4 separate regions of the Homo sapiens genome follow, and regions 1, 2 and 3 are each linked to region 4. Evidence: promoter capture Hi-C in 16 types of primary human blood cells and fetal thymus (Javierre and others, 2016). All regions are on one chromosome and are shown on one strand. Each heading gives the region's core, a stretch centred on a gene start or on the middle of the fragment in contact. The rest is flanking DNA. Distances are from core to core; before and after follow the strand shown.

Region 1 (3,438 bases), core at 350-2,849, 1.0 Mb after region 4:
GTTCTGGAGAAAATTTAGGGCTTGAGAGTTGTACCTGCCAGTTCTCTCTGAAAATGGAGCATGAGTTAAAGCTTTCATAAAAGATCCCTGGAGGAGGAATGCCTCAAGCACTGTTACTAATTCACTGGGCTCTGACTCATCAGTGGGATTTCCAACTAGTTCTAGTTTTGCTCTGCCTTAGTGGTTAGACCCTGGAACTCCATGAGACCAGAAGAAAAGGGAAAAACAATACTCCCAGAGAAAAAGAAAGCTAGAGCCATCCTCCTTATGGTGGGAAGGAAAACTCATTCATCAGAGATCACTCAGTGGTGAAATGATATGCATAATTTACTCCAAAGCAGGACAAAATACGGAGTCTGAAGTCAATTATGTTGTGAAATTAATTGGAAAGCTTTAAGTCAGCCATGCAAAGCTTAAATTTTATTCTCATCATGTCCCTGTTGTTTTAAGCTTCCCAAGCCAGTCTTATGTTTGTAATTGACTCAGTTCTGTATGAAAGCTGCTTAGAGCCTTGAAATGAGGCTTGGTTCCTGAGTCATTTCACCTTGAATGCACTTGGGATTTTTTTGGGGGGGTGGCTAAAACACATGAAAATTTTATCAACATGCGCTGCTAAAGAAAATCATCATTTATTCCAAGGGGGAATAAATGGTGATTTAAATAATTTATTTCCCAAATATTCACATTTAGTGCTTTTACCGATCATTGCCTTTTCTCATATGTCCCCTTTGCTTCCTTTTTGAAGGAAGGGACATTATTCTACTTAAGTCTAGCACATTACCTGGCACATGAAAGATATTCCACAAATGTTTGCTGAAATGGGTAAAAATATAGATAACAATTCTTATCGTGGAGGAAATGGGACATAAGGGGGTATCAGTGTTAGAAAAGACATTTTAACTACAGCACAGGTGGCAAGTAATAGGAATTCAATATTACTCTAAACCATGGTGACCATTATTATTAGGATGTGAATCAAAAATAAGTAAATTATTAGGGCTGTTTGCTCTGCCTGTTTTCTCTTCTGCTGCAGAGCTTTTATTAAATGACAGTTGGTACCTACAGTGGAAGGTATGCAGGATTAAGAGAAAGAAAGAAAGCTCTAGTTTCTTTGATTTCCCTCTCAGAACAAAAGTGTGCTAGGGAAAGATATTGGATTGTCTGGTTAAAATGAAGTGCAGTGTTTGCTTGTGGGTATTCATTTGCTAAGTTATCCTTGTTTTCTATTACAAATTAAAAACATTACAAAGTGCTTGCCTAACTAGGAAATATTTGTGCCACCAAGTTTCTCAGATTAGAGACTCAGAATACTGAACTGAAGAAATAGCCCATATAAAATAATATGCAACATTTATTGACCATCTAGCAAATGTGCCAGGCAATGTTCTAAGTACTTCACATGTATTAATTTATTTAAACTTCACAACAACCCAGCGAGGTAGGTGCTGCTATTTCCCCCTACTTTGCAGATGAGGAAACTAAGGAACAGAGCAATTAAGTAGCTTGTCCAGGCAGTCTGTTCCAAAGCCTGCTCTGAACCATTATACAGCACTGCCTCTCCACAAGCAAGATGCCAAGATAGGGTTCAGATGAGGCCCAGAGTGACTCATGCTCGCCACGGTTGTCACTGCAGATTAAGCCAGAGCAAGGCCACCGCTTCCTCCTCACCCTTCCCAGCCAAAAGTAACATCTGGGGATTGGCTTCCTGCCGGATCCGCAGGCACTTTTAATGCTTGTCTGTCTTGGGATTCTGTAAGCCCCTAAGTCTCCTTTTGAATCAATTTGTATTACATGACTTATTACTATCTTTACTATCTTGAAAAGGAAGCTCCACAGTTTAATAACAAACCAGGACAGAAATGACTTCTTAAAACACTGGCTCTCCTGCCATTTAGTGTCCCAGAAAGTTTGTTCCAAGTCCCATCAATTGCAGGGGTTTCTCTTCTCAACAAAATGAGACTTTCTGGTGACAACTTATTACAAAAGAGATGCCCTGCCTCCACCCAGCTTGAACGCTCACACTAATCATATAAAAGGAGGAATATACGTTTGGGCCAACTTGGTTTTACAGAGGAAAATGGAAATACTCTTTTCTCTAGTTTATTTGACTTGCCCAAGGCTAATCCAACATAAAGCAGGAACTGAAGGTCATGGTCATGAATCTGATTTTTATTACACATGTGGCACTATTAGAATTCTTTGCTCTAACAAACAGCTTTCCATCTTCCCAGAAAAAAAAACATATAAAGTATTAATTTACTTATTACATATAAAATTATTTGTGTCTGTACTTGTAATCCCTCAACCATTTCATTGTAATAGGTTGGTCAATAATCAAGGTCAACCAGGTCATCTGTTACTCTATAGCCACCAACATAGCCTCTCCCTGACCCCCCAGCTTCTACTTGCAGCTCAAAGCATTGCTGATGGGCAGGTGTCCCTGTCAGTACAGGGTCAAGTCAGCACTATTTTCTCCTTCCCATCCCTTCTCATAAATTTCTAGCTATACCTCATCTCTTCTTTCTCACTTCTGTTCCTGAGAGGATCAAAGTAAAATGATAGCTTGGGAAATTCCTGACCTATAAAGCTGAGAAGCTGAGGAGAGACCAGACCTAAGCCCAGAGAGGAGCTGGGACCATATTCTTTGGCACACATTCTACTGAAGTATCAAGCATGGTAATGGACAGTCCGCAGTTCTACTTCAACCTCTAATTTTTATATTTATTCACAAAATATGTATTAAGCTTCTATTACTATATGACAGGTGCTGTGCCAGGTGCTAATAGTTTTTTTGTTTTGTTTCGTTTTGAATTGTTTTGTTTTGTTTTTTGGTGGTGAGAAGACTGGTTAGACATTTCCTTATCTCCTCTCCCAGCCAAGTTAACCCTCCTCTTTCTGCCTGAAAGATGCCATGATCACTGTCCAGTCTGAAAGAAGATCTGTGATTAAATGTTTCGAAAGGTAGCTCTGCACTATGAGAATCTTGGACCTGAAATGGAATAGGAAATGTCTTGGCCAGGTTCATGGACACAATTCTAGGACATGACTCTGGTTCATGACTTAATTCAGTATGTCTGATTCGTAGACTCTTCCTGCTTCAGAAAGATGATCTCGTGTGCTTTTCTTAACATTTTGATCCTTAGCCAGTAGGTAAGATCAGATAATCTCCTTCATGCTTCTTTTCAGGATATGCTATTCTTTCAAATTTAGCCAAGACAGAGGATTCCATTCCAGACATTCTTTCCATGAATGGCATTCAGTTAGGAATGTTGTTATGCTTCCATCTTTTTTCACTTAATAAAGGCTTCAGCCAATCTAAGTTACAAATAAGCCTGACCCTACTGAGTTACAAAAGTTATGTTTTCTGTAGCTGGTTTAAGAGAACTGGAATCTGAATTGGCCTTCTCCAAGACTACAAGATTGAGTTGGATGACCTTT
Region 2 (3,055 bases), core at 483-2,982, 1.1 Mb after region 4:
AAGTAGATGTGTCTCATTCCATCACCCAGGCTACTAAGAGAAGAAGAGGGGTATGAGAAGACATTGAGTACATAGACCAAGTTCCCTGTTTCACTGTGAGTCACATGAAGACCCTGAAACGTGAGGATGTCAACTCAGAGCCCACAGATGGCAAAATCAGGATTCTTATCCTCTACATACTTACAAATCTCTACTACCCTTGGAATTCAGGGCTGCTTAGATGACAGACAGAAAAAGACAACGTATCTCATGGGGGCTCTCACGCTTGCTCTGATTCTGGCTTCCTCTCCTTGGCCTTTTGTATCATCTCCTGGGGGTCTCTAGAGCTACCTAAGTAGCTAACAAGCAAGCTGAAAAGCTCATCTTCAGCAAGATCACTTTTGCAAGCGTAACAGTCTCAGATGAAATAGATTGGCTTCTTAAAGGACTTTGGCAGCACTCAAAAAAAAATCCTTTTGAAGCAGCAGTGCATGTGAGAGGGAGTGGGGAGCAGGGATGGTGGGGTGGGCTTACGACATTCTAACAACCAGAGGTCTCATGATACCTTGGCTTTTCCTAGAGAGACAGGACTCAGGTGTTCTGGGCCCTAATGATCCACTCCTGTTTTCACTGCCTCCTCTGTCCCCCACTTGTCCTTGTCCTTCCTCTAGGAGGCAGCAATACAACAGGGCTGTGTTACACAGTGGGCTCGATCATCCACTCTCCAAAACGCTCAAAGAACACAGATGGACTCTTCCTTCTGAGTAAATCCTCCTCAATTAGAAAGCTCCTCGGCTGGCCCTATCTTAACATCTGCCTGAGGTCCATATACTGTCTACGAGATGCTCATTAGTACTGCAGGCCCTAGAGTCATCGGTAGACCTTGGACACCAGTAAAACATGTAGAACCATCTCCTCCAGAGCCAACAACTTATTATGAAACCTTCACATTTTCACTGCCAAGCAGGTAGCAGGGGGGCCTCAGAAAACCACAAGCTTTGTCTCTTTTCATACACCTCTAATATCGAGGTGTCAGGTCAGACAACTCTACCAAAACTGCAGTATAAAATCCTTTATACTGTAAGCAAATATATTTATTTCAATGGACCACTTAACCCTCATAAGTGCATCTTAGGCTCAGCTTTCTGGTATTTAAAAAATTGCCTGACACCCCTCCTTCTTCAGGAAACCTTCTTCGACTAAAGAATAAGATTCAGTTAATAATGAATCCCCTACATTTATATACCAAAATTTATTTTTTTGCTTACAGAACCAAATTTATTTCTTTGCACCAGGACCAAAATTGCATTATACCCTCCTCAAGAAGCTTCGTAAATGATTATTTGGTTTTGAACTTTGTTTTTGGTGTTTTGCCTGTCCTACTCAGAAGGCAGCTTTTATCCTGACGACGTTTCAGTTTTAGCTATGGCTCTCTCTAAAGCTGCTAGTTTTGTATGGGTAGCTCCTTCCTTAGAAGGAAAATCTGCAGTATCTTTTTTAAGTTCTGCGTCAGAAGACGGCCTGGACGGAGGGTGGGGTGACTGATGAGTTGGAGCTTTGCTGCCACCTGGTGTCCGACCGAGGAGGATGACGCAGTTCCCTAGATAAAGACTTGCAAGCTCTAGAGCCTCATCTGCTTTGCCGTGGGCGTGGGTGATTGTGCAGAGTTCTGGGTCACGCGCTTGGCTCTGATTTAAGGAGGTCAACCACACATACCCACGGGCAGAAAAACGGAGGCTGGCGCCTGCCGTCCCACCCCATCACCAGGACGAAAGGGGTGGGACCAGCACTCCCCATTTCCACAACCTTTCCCATGGCTTTTGGGTGACTTTTCCTGCGCTCCTCCCCCAATACGATATTCTCCCCTAAGGAATAAATGGAGAGACAGAGGGGGAAGCAGGAAAATGTAAGCAATGTGACTTTCTCTGGGGTCCTCATTCCCCTGCAGAGAGCTCTGAGGACTAAAACCAAGACTTGAAGGAGAAAAAGAGGTTTTAATATCCAAGCTCTGAAATCTCCAGGTTATGCAAACCATCAAAGTGATGTGAATGGCCTCCCGTAAGTAGGGATGGAGAGGACCCTGTGAACCAACTAGAAATAAACACTTAGGAAAAATAGCTTCAGCTTATTTAACTAAAGTTACGTCTGATGGCTGTTTGTGATTCCTCTGCAAGCTTGAACCTCTAATAGCACCTGCTATGTATTACGTATGCCCAAAGTGGGGACATTCATACAAGACTTCTTCACACTTTTAATAATGATAATGCTGTGAACTTTAGTTAATTAGAAGGATCGGGGACTGGGCAGCCTGATTAATTCAATTTTCTAGTTAACTAAGAGTTAATGTGGAAGTTATCCCTCTTTTCTAGGATTTTTGGTAGTTACAGCTCTCAGTGCTCATCTGTGTCTGTGGAATATTTCTGTCAATGTGAAGACTCTGACACATGCTTATCAAATTTTAGAAGATATAGGCTTGAAAGGTTTGGTAATGCGTTACATGGCAGAAGTCATTCAAAAGTAATTTAACGGGCTTATATTATGAGTTAAGACTAAAGTCCTGGAAATATATATTTTTTTAAGTTAACCATACAAATACAGGATGTTGAAACTTGGCTTAATAGCAGTTCATGTGGGAAGCCCCAGGCATTTTAGTAACCCAATGTGGCTGCCAAAAATGACAAAGCAGTCTTAGGCAGTGCTGAAAGAGAAAGGCAGTGTTGGGAGCAGGAAAGATGGGAGCTCTACTGAATATGCCATGGTGGGGTCATGTCTACAGATCTCCATTCTATTCTGCCTGCCACAGCAGAAAAGGAAAGGGAACTGATGAAAGTTTTAGAAATCACGGCATATGAGGAAAATTCAAAGCTGCTGACAATGTTTGCAGTAGAAGAATGGAAGGCCTAGGGAGAAACTGAAGAGCTATATTCAAACATGTGAAGGGTTGTCATGGGAAAAGAGGACAAGGCTTAGAGCTGTTAAAAGAAAAACTTTAGACAAAATAAATTTAACAGAGTTTATTTGTCCAAAGAACAACTCATGAGTTGGGCAGCACTCAGAACCAGAAGCAGTTCAGAAG
Region 3 (3,404 bases), core at 599-3,098, 1.2 Mb after region 4:
TGCTCCTGCTTGGGACAATCCTCAGTACAGGGTGACATTGGGTTGTGAATGGGAACAAAAACTTCATCGTCAGGTAGGTCTGAATTCTGCCCCTACTAGTTGTGTTACACTGAAAACCCCATCTACGCTGTCTGAGCTGGCTCCCTCCATCTGTAAGACGAGGAAAATGATAGATAGTATCTATCCCATACGAAAACTCATACATGAATGTTCAAAAAGTGGAAACATCCCAAATGCCCATCAGCTGATGAATGGATAAAAAAGATGTGGCTGTATTTATCAATGGAATATTACTTGGCAGAAAAAGGAATGCAGTACTGATATACGCCACAGCATCAAGGATCCTCTAAGTGAAAGAAGCTAGTCACAAAAGACCATACATCACATGACTCCAGCCAAATGAAGTGTCCAGAATGGGAAATCTATAGAGAAAGAAAGGAGATAAGTGGCTGCCTAGGGGAGGGGGTGGAGGTGAGTAGGAAGGAAGTGGGCAGTGACTATTAATGGGTATAAGCTTTCTTTGTAGGGTGACAAAAATGTTCTAAAATTAGATTATGGTTATGGGCACACAACTCTGTAAATATACTAGAAAAGTCCAATGAATTTCCCCTTTAAATAGGCTGTGTAAATTATATATCAATAAAGCTATTAAAAATAATAATCTGTCTGGGCCCGGCGGTTCATGCCTGTAATCGCAGCAATTTGGGAGGCCGAGGCGCGTGGATCACCAGAGGTCAGGAGTTTGAGACCAGCCTGACCAACATGGTGAAACCCTATCTCTACAAAAATACAAAAAAATTAGCCAAGCATGACGGTGAGCGCCTGTAATCCCACCTACTCGGGAGGCTGAGGCAGGAGAATTGCTTGAACCCAGCAGGCAGAGGTTGCAGCGAGCCAAGATCGTGCCGCTGCACTCCAGCCTAGGCAACAGAGCAAGACTCTGTCTCAAACAAACAAATAACAACAAAAAAAAACTTTTCTAAAGAAATACGATCTTATAAAGACACAACTTTGACAAAAATATACAAAGAACTTTTTATCAAACCAAACATGTTTCCCCACCTAAAATTTCCAAGTACTGCTAAGGATTATTTCTAAAAATTCTGGATTAATACCTGTGGGGTGCCTACCATGTACCTACCAGGCACATGTGCAAGGTGTTGGAGGTACAGCAATGGAAGACAGTTTTTGTCCTCAAGTATAACCAAGACAGTCATCCACCCTGTAATAACACAATTAGCCATTTCTCTAATTTAAATTTCTAACTCTAGTAACCATCAACACCCACCTGCTCAAGTTAACAGAAATCCATGGAGTATCCTCAATCTCTCATGACTTCCTGTCATTACAACCCTGGACATTTTCCCCCAACATATCCCACTTAGCAACTTTAGCCCAGGCCCCAAGTGTTAACGCTTGAGGATCCACTCTTTTAACCCACACACCAGCCATTTTTCTCAAGGCATGGCAGTGTCCAGGTGGCTGCATAAGTCCACATTGGGTCCAGGAGCATCTCTTACCTCCAGTTGCTCTTGTGTGGAAACCAGTCATCCATTCAAACTACTCCTCCCATTGTGGTAATATAATTTTGTCTTAGAGGAAATATACTTTTCCTGCTGCCCAACCTTGGTCTGGGCTAACCCAAGCCATCCAATATATTTCACTACATTTTAACCACAAATAGAAAAGGTCTTTCCTTCTAAGAGATTACTACGTTCCCACCTAAAATATGTCTGATTCCTCCTCAGCAACCTCCAAGCTCCAAGCCCTCCCCATCTAATAAGTATGTAGGAGGGATACCACAGCTCCATCCTCCAGAACCAGCCCTGGTTAACCCAAAACTCCTTGTTAACACTCCTCCCCAAACTCCACCCCCTAAAAAGTGTTCTTTCAGAACAAAGTGAATCTACCCCAAAGGTTTATTGACTTATTCTCTAGGGACAGGGAACTCATCACTAAATAGACATACTTGTGCATACACACACACACACACACACACATAAACACACACAGTTACTCCTACAAAGTGCTCCAAATAAGAGTGGTCATGACCAGAAAATGTGAATTTCCGATGTTTCCATGTTGAGAATGAGAGATTGACCAACTTCTCACTCCCAACTAGTTGAATTCTAAGTCCTCACCTGGGCCTGACCAGTTGCTCTGGCCTCCGGGTTTCCCAGACGCCAGTTTTATTTCAGTAGCCTAGGTACTTTGGCAGGAAGGGGGCTGGAGAACTGAAACGATTGGCTGGAGATGAAATCACAGGGACACCTAAAACTGTCTTCGTGTGGCTGAGTCAGTTCCTGGAAGAGGGCCTCAGGACCAGGTGGCATCTCTTGTTTTGTCACAATGCTAAATCTGAAAGATATCTCAAAGACCAGTTCTTTAGGTTTCACAATAGTGATGTTAGCTATAGGAGTAGATGGGGGAGTTATAAATCATGTGACCCCCAGTTTTGTGATTCTGGGGCAGTAAACAACTTATAGAAAAACAAACTAAGCGATGGCAGGTCATGGTTTAACTATGCCTATTCTACAGCAAAGTCCAAGGCCCTACCACAATTTTAGCCTTGTCTTATGAACGCAGCTTCAGTCTACAAAAAAAAAAAGAAATTTAGCCTGTGAGGTTAGAAGCAAGATGGAGTCAGTCACGTTAGATTTCTCTCATTACTTATTCCAAAAAGGTAGTTTCACCAAGAGTTTGGGGGGGTTCTATTCCTAGAAGGTTGGGGGGTTGGACAGACTACCCCATAGATGTGTCTATAATGATGATGATGGAAAAGTTTTGGTGTCTTCAGACCACAGAGGCTGTTCCTTTATATCTTTTGTGGCACCACATATCCCTACCTTAACCTCTGTTCCAGGATGCCCGTACTCTCTCTGTTCACCAACCTGGCCAGTAGCCAACAAGTGGCTCAAGGATGCCCGTACTCTCTCTGTTCACCAACCTGGCCAGTAGCCAACAAGTGGCTCAATAAAGTGGGAATGGGTGGAGAAAATAAAAAGGAAGGAGTTGAAAGAAGGGCCACTTGAATGCCCCAGTTGCCATCCCCTACTTTGGCTGACCCACAATTTCCGTAAAACAGAATTCATATTCTTCACAAATGTGACATTTTAACTTGCTGATATTCACTCAAATCTATTCTAGTCTTGAAGAAAGTGGTGAAGACCTACCAAGCTTCGAATATCCTTTATTGAGTTTTTTTCTTAATAACTTAGGTGATGAAAACATTCCTCCCCTAATTTGACCACCATCCAGTTCTGGGGGGTGTCCACCAAGTGACACGAAGGGAATCAGCAGTTTCCCATAAGCATCTAGCTAAGCATGGTGGACAGAGGTGGTTGGTAATGAGGCTGGCTCATCCAGGGAAGGGAGGGCTGGTGAGGTCACACAGACTCAAATAA
Region 4 (3,364 bases), core at 7-2,506:
CACACTTTGAGACTCATTGAGATATGTAAATACTGCCAGTTGTATTTCTTCACAGATTAATCAACTCACAGATTTGGGTGCATTCATTTGTGCAGTCTTAGAAACAAATCTTTCCCTTTACCAGTATCTTATTCCATCTGGTAGACTCATTTCTGCTGCTGATGCTTGAAAAAAGTGTCATTTGCTACCACAGGAGGAAAACGGTGCTAGATGGATCATAACATACAGAAAAGCAAGATAGTTCCAAAATGTTTCCAAGAGCTTCTGGCAGGATCTGTCATTCTACAAATACTGCACAGGAAAAATTGCTTTAAATGCTGCATCTTTGCAGTAGAAAGATTAGGATTGAGCCAGGCTGTGAGTCAGGCAGAAAAAGGCACACAGAGGGGGATGAAAGAAAGCACTGGAGAGTCTTGTCATGCTTTGCCCTTGAAAACTATGCCAAGACCTCTTTTGTGTTTTTAAATGAAGAAATCCATCATGTTTTGTGATTGCTGTAATGACTCAGGATCTTCCACCTTCCTTTTAACTATAAACCGTAGCGTAGTTAGGTGTTTGTTTTCTTTGTATCATGCTTGCAAAAAGTGACGAAATAAAGTTAAAACCCTTTAACTGGGACTCCATTACGGTTCTGCTGTTCAGTGACCAGCTTGTTCATTATTCTCACAATATTATCTACTTTCTTCATTTCAGTCTGTCTCTTAGATCCTGGGCTTCTGATGTCTTTCCATGGCGGATGAATACAATTTAAAACACGAAAGCTGCTGGAGGAAAGGTTTAACGTTCCCCCTCCCCAAGGTGAAATCTTTGCCTGGCCTCAGTCACTAAGTCTCTCAGGAGCGGAAACTGAATGGACATTCCGGAGACGGTGAATAAGAATGATAAACGGTGGTTGGGGAGAACAGCGCGTTTCTTCCAGCGGAGGACTAGGCCCACAGGACGCATTCCCAACAGATGAGCGGAGCCGACAGCAAGTGTGCCACGAACGCCAGCTGGCCGCCTCACTAGAGAGAGCTCCGCCGCAAGCCGCCGCTTTTGGAGTGGAGTTCCACATGTCCTCCGCGCTTGAGCCCTGGGACGTCAGAGGCCTGGCGTGCTGCCACCGCCCCAGTTCACGTCGTGTGACCCACGACCAATGGAAGAGCAGGCAAGTATTCCCGGCGTCCGCTGTGATTGGTTCCCGGAGTGGAGGCGGTGGCAGAGGGTGGGCCTTAGGACGGGTCTCCCTTAAACTGGGCGATCAGGCAGCGACCCTAGAGGCGTCTGTAGGGTAAAGCTGGGGGTTCTGTAGCCGGAGGCGGCGGCGAGTCCAGAACGTCCTGGCCTTACAGGGAGAAGGCGTCACTCGCGGTTACAAGTGCCTGACCCTCACTCCAGTTGGCGGAGGAGGAGAAGGAAGGGGCCGGGCCGGGTCCCCTCCCCTCGCGCCCCGGATGGATGTGCCCGGCCCGGTGTCTCGGCGGGCGGCGGCGGCGGCGGCCACTGTGCTCCTGCGGACCGCTCGGGTCCGTCGCGAATGCTGGTTCTTGCCGACCGCGCTGCTCTGCGCCTACGGCTTCTTCGCCAGCCTCAGGCCGTCCGAGCCCTTCCTGACCCCGTACCTGCTGGGGCCGGACAAGAACCTGACCGAGAGGGAGGTACGCGCGGCGGACGCGGGGCGCGGGAAGGGCGGGCGACCGGCCTGCGGGTGGGCAGCGGAGGAAGAGAGGACCGAGAAAAGCGCTCGAGCCATTCTCGGCAGAGATTTCTGATTTTGCCAGTTGGAGGTCGGCTTCGTGCTCTTCTTTGTGTTCATGATTTTCTGTTTTCTTCGGCTCTGTAGGACGAGTCTCCTGCGAAGGGCTCAGAACACGCGTCCAGAGGCCCCGTGCCTTGTGCGTCAGGCAGTATGCTGATCGTGTTGTAATGTGGCTTAGCGTGACTGCCCAGACTGGTCCAGCAGTTCCTGCTGGGGGCGAGGGGGCAATATTTTGACAAAGAAGTGAAAACAGCAAAGTGTACTTTGGACACGGCTTAGTAAATATTCATTGACTGAAAGTAGGCAACCACTGCTTTTCTGAAAGGATCTTCCCTCTACCTCCTTCACCTGCTTCCTGTCCATACCTTACTTTGTTTGCATTTGGCAGAATGGGTGGGCTTAATCAAGTAAGGACAGGACAGAAGTACAGAACATCTTAATTTGTCTTGATTTTTAATTGGGTGAGGTTGTGTCCAAGGATATCCTGCCCCTCTCTACCTTAAGACCAACCTCCAGGGATAAAGGCAGATGGTGAAACATAATTGACTTTTAATTATAGTGTTTCTTGTATTGCGAATTGTTGCTTCACAGATGTTAGTTTTGCTTCTCAGATACAAGGTGATGTCTTTGAAGGCCTTCTGTGATGTTCAGGGTAATTGAGAGCACGTAGTCCATCATCAAGAGTTTCTTGCTGATTGATTTTTTCCCTAGATGAGGGCTTACAAATAAAGTACTTCAGAAGCGCATAGTGTACTTTAGAAATGTGCTGACCTATTTAAGTGCATGGTCAAAACCAGCACTTGATTTTTGCAGAAGAAAGACAATATATAAACTGAGAAAGAAATTAAACCCAAAGTACTTCCACAAAACCGAAATAAAGCCGATTCAACACCCTCTTCCTTGAATACAACAAAGGGTGAAAGCTGAGGTCTCATGTTCTTTTTCCTACTATCAGTCAAGGGGCCACTTGAGAGCTTTTTCTTTTTTCCTACACCTGTTCCTTCCACCCTGCCTCCTTGCCCCAGGTGCTGTAAAATACTCCTCCCATTTAAACCTTACTCTTCTCTATGTGGGTAGTAGTCAGTCACTTCTTTTGAGTAGCCACTCAGTAACCCTGCATAACAGGTCAGAACAAGAGATGGCACTACCGGAATCATTTGCACACTGGCGAGATATAGTTACTCATAGTTTGTTGTTTGCAGTTTGTTTGTTGCAATGCTCCGTCATTTTCAAGGGCACTTGAGAGAGAATTAAGAATCAGTATTGACTTACGTATTGAGGGTTTCACTTGAGAGTCTGACATTTGTTCACTTCTAGCAAGTATCACTGACTTTTTGCCTGGCCTTAAATTACCCTATTGACCTGCCAGTTGTGGGATGGAGTGGCTGGGCCGTTTCTCAGTCTTGTGGATCATTACATAAGCGACCGTAACAGTTATTCATAACCTATTTGAGTTTTAATACTGATTTAAAGCAATAATGTCAAAACAGCCAAATTTCATGACAGAATGATTTTACAAGAAAATTACTGCACTGATATGAGAAAGTATGATTCTGGAGACCCAAAACAACCACTGAATCTGAGGTGTAGCCACTGAGGCAGAATTGATACTGCTGTGAACAGCTG

The links. Contacts are between HindIII fragments. The CHiCAGO score rates a contact against its expected background, and 5 or more counts as called.
Region 1: a contact is called between a fragment that was not itself captured here and the fragment with the promoter of SLC19A2 in region 4, in 1 of 17 cell types (fetal thymus). The highest score is 5.9, in fetal thymus.
Region 2: a contact is called between a fragment that was not itself captured here and the fragment with the promoter of SLC19A2 in region 4, in 3 of 17 cell types (total B cells, total CD8 T cells and naive CD8 T cells). The highest score is 8.0, in total B cells.
Region 3: a fragment that was not itself captured here is called in contact with the fragment with the promoter of SLC19A2 in region 4 in 1 of 17 cell types (naive CD8 T cells); the score reaches 8.1 in naive CD8 T cells.

What each region holds. Positions count from the first base shown.
Region 1 is chr1:168,468,045-168,471,482 of GRCh38, reverse strand. All of the region lies in intron 3 of LOC125312414 (a long non-coding RNA gene), which reads left to right. The region is part of intron 4 of LOC101928565 (a long non-coding RNA gene); the gene reads left to right. Among named protein-coding and RNA genes, the nearest start is that of XCL2, 74 kb to the left of the region's middle. The HindIII fragment of the contact is 2,294 bases long and covers 453-2,746 here.
Region 2 is chr1:168,341,370-168,344,424 of GRCh38, reverse strand. No RefSeq gene overlaps it. Among named protein-coding and RNA genes, the nearest start is that of MIR557, 33 kb to the left of the region's middle. The HindIII fragment of the contact is 847 bases long and covers 1,309-2,155 here.
Region 3 is chr1:168,316,384-168,319,787 of GRCh38, reverse strand. No RefSeq gene overlaps it. Among named protein-coding and RNA genes, the nearest start is that of TBX19, 37 kb to the right of the region's middle. The HindIII fragment of the contact is 2,663 bases long and covers 517-3,179 here.
Region 4 is chr1:169,483,836-169,487,199 of GRCh38, reverse strand. SLC19A2 (solute carrier family 19 member 2) reads left to right here and starts at 1,256. Exons shown (of 6, transcript NM_006996.3): 1 at 1,256-1,637. The coding sequence starts at 1,434. RefSeq lists enhancers at 822-891, 199-1,119, 902-1,151, 955-1,249, 1,792-1,851 and a silencer at 1,432-1,611. The HindIII fragment of the contact is 10,248 bases long and covers 1-3,364 here.